2 separate regions of the Homo sapiens genome follow, and region 2 is linked to region 1. The links are contacts of gene promoters, found by promoter capture Hi-C in human tissues and cell types (Jung and others, 2019). All regions are on one chromosome and are shown on one strand. The core of a region is centred on a gene start or on the middle of the fragment in contact, and the rest is flanking DNA. Distances in the headings are between cores, read along the strand shown. Region 1 holds the start of TMEM109 (transmembrane protein 109). Region 2 holds the start of SLC15A3 (solute carrier family 15 member 3).

What was found. The method cuts DNA at HindIII sites, captures the fragments that hold promoters and counts their contacts. A contact is called where the count stands out against the background at its distance.
Region 2: a contact is called between the fragment with the promoter of SLC15A3 here and the fragment with the promoter of TMEM109 in region 1, in 2 of the 25 tissues and cell types used here (IMR-90 fibroblasts and adrenal gland).

What each region holds. Positions count from the first base shown.
Region 1 is chr11:60,912,848-60,915,547 of GRCh38, forward strand. TMEM109 (transmembrane protein 109) reads left to right here and starts at 1,311. Exons shown (of 4, transcript NM_024092.3): 1 at 1,311-1,421. TMEM109-DT (TMEM109 divergent transcript) reads right to left here and starts at 1,216. Exons shown (of 2, transcript NR_186356.1): 1 at 1,113-1,216; 2 at 319-630. RefSeq lists enhancers at 1-548, 1,547-2,545, 1,940-2,109 and a silencer at 1,600-1,759. The HindIII fragment of the contact is 7,495 bases long and covers 1-2,700 here.
Region 2 is chr11:60,950,865-60,953,591 of GRCh38, forward strand. It overlaps SLC15A3 (solute carrier family 15 member 3), which reads right to left and starts at 1,312. Exons shown (of 8, transcript NM_016582.3): 1 at 130-1,312. The coding sequence starts at 687. RefSeq lists silencers at 595-754, 1,075-1,304 and an enhancer at 1,485-1,624. The HindIII fragment of the contact is 25,133 bases long and covers 1-2,727 here.

The DNA of each region.
Region 1 (2,700 bases), core at 61-2,560:
CTCATAGGAGGGAGCGTGCAGGTGAGTGGGTGCAGGAGCCAGAGCGTGCGCTTTTGGACACCGGCAGGAGCGAACTCCGTGCAGGCCCCGGGGCAGTGTCCAGGCAGAGTGCCTGAGGCTCCTGAAGCCCCAGAGGGCATGTTACAGTGTTCTTTTGGCTCTGTCGTCCGTGGACAGCTTAAGTGTTAACAGCTCCGTGGGCCCGCGGTTGCCCTCCACCAGCAAGGGCAGAGGGCCAGCGTGACAGCTTTTGTATCCGCACTCGTGGCTCCCGAGCTCTTGTCCAGCGTCCAAGAAAAATAAAGCTGCACGAACAAATTAAAGGACAAATGCCTGGGATTTTATTGCTGATCAAAGTGGATTTCAGAGGGAAGGTGAGCTGAAAAGAGGGGGGTGGGACAGGCCGGTATGTAGTCTTCCCTTGAAGTCCAGCTATCTCCAGCCAGATTCGTCTCAGAAGTTACGCCTTAAGCTGTCCCTCTGAAGACAAGCTGCTTCTCTCTGACATCCAGCCATGGTCGTCCCCTCATCCAGCTGCTTCTCCTCTCTGCCAGATGAGTCTGGGGTCTTTCTAGGCACAGGATGAGGCAGGGCAGAGCCATGGGTGGCTTAGGAAAAGGCAACATTCAACTGGAAAAACATGGATAGAAGTTCTCACTTTGGGCCATGGTTTCAGGCTTTTTGGCTTGAGGGTGGGGTTTCACCAGGGACCCGCTCTTTTCTACCTAGCATTTATCTGCCTCCTGTCCCTATGCACTGCCTTTGTGGCAGAAAAAGGAGAGTGAGAGTTGGTTCCTCTCTTTCTCTGAAATTCTGAGCTAACATTTGGGAGCCGTCTACAGTATTCAGGTATGAATTTTCTCTCTGGGGGAGCGCATTCGTTTTCCTAGAGCAGTGTGCTTTTAATTGCTCCTTTAATATCTTTCTCTTTTGTGCCTTTTTAGCGCGAAAAGTGTATGGGAAGACTAGGTGCTCGTTAGCGGCTCGGTTAGAACTACATTGCCCACAATGCCCCAGGGAACATTTGTAGCTCTAGAACTACATGACCCAAAATGCCGAGTGGTGGCAAGAGGAGGATTAGCTTCCACTCCGATTTCAAAGATCCAGTTTACCCACTCTACAGCCCAGATATAGTCACTTATTTCCCCTTTCCAGCCAGAGACTTCCGTTCCCTGCTGGAACTTCCGATCCCATTCTTCTCTCGGTGGGAATGCTTGTGGGGGGAAAAAGAAACGCAATAGATAAAGCGGGGCGCATGCGCTCCCGGCACAGGCTTCGATTGTGAGGAAGGCCGGCTAGTCTCCGAGCTCATCCCGCCTTGCGCATGCGGAGAAGGTAAACCAGCGCCCCGAGTTGAGGCGCGGGTTTGGTGGCGCGTTTCAGCGAAGTCGCACGTGAAGGATAGCAGTGGCCTGAGAAAGGTGAGAGCGGGCCGAGGTCGGAATGTGGGGCAGCGCACGGGAAGGGGAGACAGCAGCCGCTGCAGGCGGCACCAGGCGGAGCCGCGAGGCCTGGAGAGTCCGAGTGGGGAGGGGTCCGCGCGCCCAGCGTGCGAAACAAACCGGGGACCCGGATCCCCGTTGCTATGCAACCGGGGGCGTCGTTTCCAGGCAACCCGGGAGGCGCACGTTTCCGGGGAGAAGAGGGTTGCGGCGAGGTTCCGAGGTCCGGCAGAGGTGGAGCGGCTCCCGGGCGTGGGGACCAGGCCAGCGCCAAGCCCGAGCCCCCGAACCCCGACCCACGGCCCAGCCTCCTGCAGCCTCGGCTCGAGCCCTTCGGGGGGCCCCAAACTCATGGGTCGCGCCACGTTCCTTGCCAGCGACGCTACCCCTCAGCGCTTGGCAGGGGACGCGCCGTTCGAAATAGCACATGCCACTGACACCCTGTCTCCGGGAGGCTGCGCCCCGGTTAGGGCGCGGAGCGGCAGGGAAGCTGCCCCTTTGCCGTCGCCCTGCCCCCAAACAGTTGCTGGGCAGCAGCTGTCAGGGGTTTAGTGGGAGCTGCCCCCAACCTGCCAGGGCGCTGACTTCATTCTCTGCAGTGGCGGCTTCGCCTTGTTTAGGACCTTCCTTTAGACTCAGCTGTGCTTCTCGTGTGGCTGCTGTATATTTGGATCTACTATTAAAATAACCTCCCTCCTCACCTCTCCATGGCTTTCTCGTTCGACCCTCACGGTTTCTTGGCAGGTTGCTAATATTCATTTAATAAACATTTATTAGTCATCTTTCCTACTAGGCGCTGGGGATTCCAACATGTCAAGTCTAACCGGGAGTCGCTCGGTCTACTGGGGAAGGCAGGTTGATAAACTGCTAAATTATGCTACGATATATAGTCAGTGGTAATGTGTGTGCTGCAACATTTCTATAGATGTTTAGTTTACAAAGCGCTTGCTGCAGAAATATCTTAACTCCTTACAGCAACTCTTCACCTGGGTTCACTCCCTTTTACGTTTGAGGAGACTGCAACTCAGGCAGGTTAAGTAACAGGCGTAAGGTAGTAGCTTCTAGTCCGTGGCACACTTGAGCCTGGGACGGAAGTCAGGGGTCCTTTGTACACTGCTGCACTTTTGAAGCTTTGCTTAGACTTTTCCCTGAGCTGCTGGCTATGCATCCGAAATTCCTGAGGAGCTTTGCAAAACAAAGGGCTGAGTCCCTCTCTGGAAGAGTCTGAGTGAGTAGCCCTGGGTGGGGCAGACGTCCT
Region 2 (2,727 bases), core at 62-2,561, 38 kb after region 1:
CCCCTCTTCTTTCAAATCAGGAAACTAGTGCAGGCAGGGGACCTGGTTTGTCCCAGGTCACGCTGGGGGCCAGCCCTCCTTCCCTCCACACCCGCCGGAGTATGCCGGGGCAGGCCTCCTGCCACTCACCTGGTCGGCACCGAAGGAGGTGAGGTTGCTCCGGACGGAGCTGGCGGCCAGGCCGAGTAGCAGCAGGCCCGCGTAGAGGACGGGCGCGCAGTAGGGGCTGGGCGAGGAGCGCGGGCAGCCGGCCGAGGGGCAGGCAGGTCCCAGCGGCGACGCGGGCATCTCTCCGCAGAAGGAGCTGCGGCCGTCGGGGAAGGCGGTGGCGGGCAGCAGGCCCGAGGCGGCCAGGTAGAGCAGCAGGCTGAGCGCGACCGCGCGGTAGCGGCCCAGGTACACGTCGGCCAGCCAGCCGCCCACGGGCGCCAGCAGGTAGGAGGCGCCCAGGAATACCAGCGCGGCGCGCGTCGCCTGCTCGCCGGTCCAGTTGAAGTTGGTGCTGTTGAGGTACAGCACGAGGTTGGCGGTGACGCCGAAGAAGGCGGCGCGCTCCAGCATCTCCACCAGCAGCACGGCCGCGCCCGCCGCCCGCCGCCACCGTCGAGGGCCCCGCGCACCGCGAGGCAGCAGCGGCTGGCGCTCCCCGGGCACGCGGGGCTGCTCCCGGGCGCGCGGCGCGGGCATCCTGGCTCCGGGCTGGGCCCCCCGCGGCTCTTCTCTCCTCTCCTCTCCCCGCCTCAGAGCCCTGCACTCCTGCCCCCGGGCCTCGGCCCTCTCCCCCACCCAACTGGCTGGCCCTCCTTTCTCACCGCTTTGGCCCACCCTTCCCTCCTGTCCCCTCTCCCTTTCTTGCCCTACCCTTCCTGTCCCTCCGCTCACTACCCGGACTCTACCACCTCCTCCCTAATTCTCAACTCCCCTCTCCCTTCCCCCACCCCTAAGGCTTCCTCCCCGCGCCTCTCCTGCAGCTGTTTCTCCCTAACTCTCCCCTCTCCTCCCTCCACCTTGACCCTTCCTCGCACTCTTGTTCACACTGCGACCCTCCCTGCTTCACTTCGCTGCCCCTCCGCCTCCCTTTCCCCTCCCCGTTTGTCGCCCCTTCCTGTTGTCCCCTCTCCTTATGACTCCTGGCCTGCCCTGGGCGTGGGGTGGGGGCTCCCTCTGCCCCAGTCACCCTGCTGCCCCTTGCCGTCTTCTCCACCTCCTCCCTGTCCCCCTCACCCCCACTGCCTACACTCCCCTCTCAGTCCCCTGCAGCCCTCCCCCCAGGCTCAGCCTCTGTCCCTCTCTCGGCTTCTTGAGAAACTCTGGGCTCCCCTCGCTTCCCCTTTCACAGGCCCTATCCGCAGTCCCCTGCCTGCATCACATGGCGCTACTGGGTGTTTAGGAGAAGTGAAAGCCTGGGTCACAGGGCTCCTGCCCGGTCAGCTTTCTAAAAACCTCCCTCCTTCTCTACCTCTGCCTCCTACCCCAAACCCCCGCTGCTGGCCTCCTTAGAGCCAAAAAATTCCAGGAGGAATTTTTTCTTTCAGTTTCATTTCTCGCCAGGATTCCACTTTTGCTTTACCCTCTTCCAATCAAACTCCACGCCTCCACCCGAGGCGCCACGGGTAGAAAGAAGTGGAAAGGCTACCTGCATCATTTGGTCACACTCAGCCATTTCACAGATGCAGAGACAGACCCAGTGGGGCTAGGGCAGGAAGGTGGAGAAAGATTGGTTCCTGGTAACTGAACTAGGGGTGAAGCCCTGCCCCGGGCTCCTGAGTGGCAGGGAAATTCACAGCGCAATTCGGATTGCACAGAGGCTGCTGTGAGGAAGGAAGTGGGGCACTTTCAACAAGCCTGCGGGCCATAGAGGACCACAAGTGAGTCGGGATTGAGAGGGACACCGACCTCAGACTAAATCAGAGTCAGCCTCAGAACTCCTAAGCACCAGCCCCACCCTGACCTAGGAGCCCGGGGGATCTGGCCTCTGCTCTCCTCTGATCTCATCTCAGCCCCATGTTCACTCAAGTCCAGCCAGCCGGCCTCCCAGGTTCCCCTTCCATGCTAAGCTCCTCCCTGCCTCAGGGCCTTTGTCTTTGCTGACCCCTCTGCCATAACTGCTCTCCCTCCATATCCTTGCATGGCTGGCTGCTTCTCTTTATTGAGGTTTCAGCATATATGTCTCCTTTGTAGGGACCTTCCCTGATTTTCCCATCTAAGTAGTTTCCTACTGGATTCTCAGCATCCCCCATCACATTGTCTTGTTTTAATGTCTTCAGAGCACATATTACTTGTTCAGTTAGCACCAGTAGAATAGGCCCTCCATCAGATCAGAGACCTTTTCTAACTCTTCACTGTTTTATTCTCAATGGCTTCCCAGTGCTTGGCAAATAGTAGGTGCTCAATAAGTATTGCCTGAATCAATGAATGGAAAGAGTGTCCCAAGGCAAAATTTGTAAGAATAATAATATCAGGAAAGCTAAAGCTAAATAAACTGAGTCTCACAAAAGCTATAGATACCAGCAAAAAAAGCACTATAGATACCAGCAAAAAAGCGAGGGATTTTTTGTTGTTGTTGTTTGTTTGTATGTTTGTTTTGAGACGAAGTCTCACTCTGTCGCCCAGGCTGCCATGCAGTGGCACAATCTCGGCTCACTGCAACCTCCACTTCCTGAGTTCAAGCAATTCTCCTGCCTCAGCCTTCTGAGTAGCTGGGATTACAAGCGCGTGCCATCACGC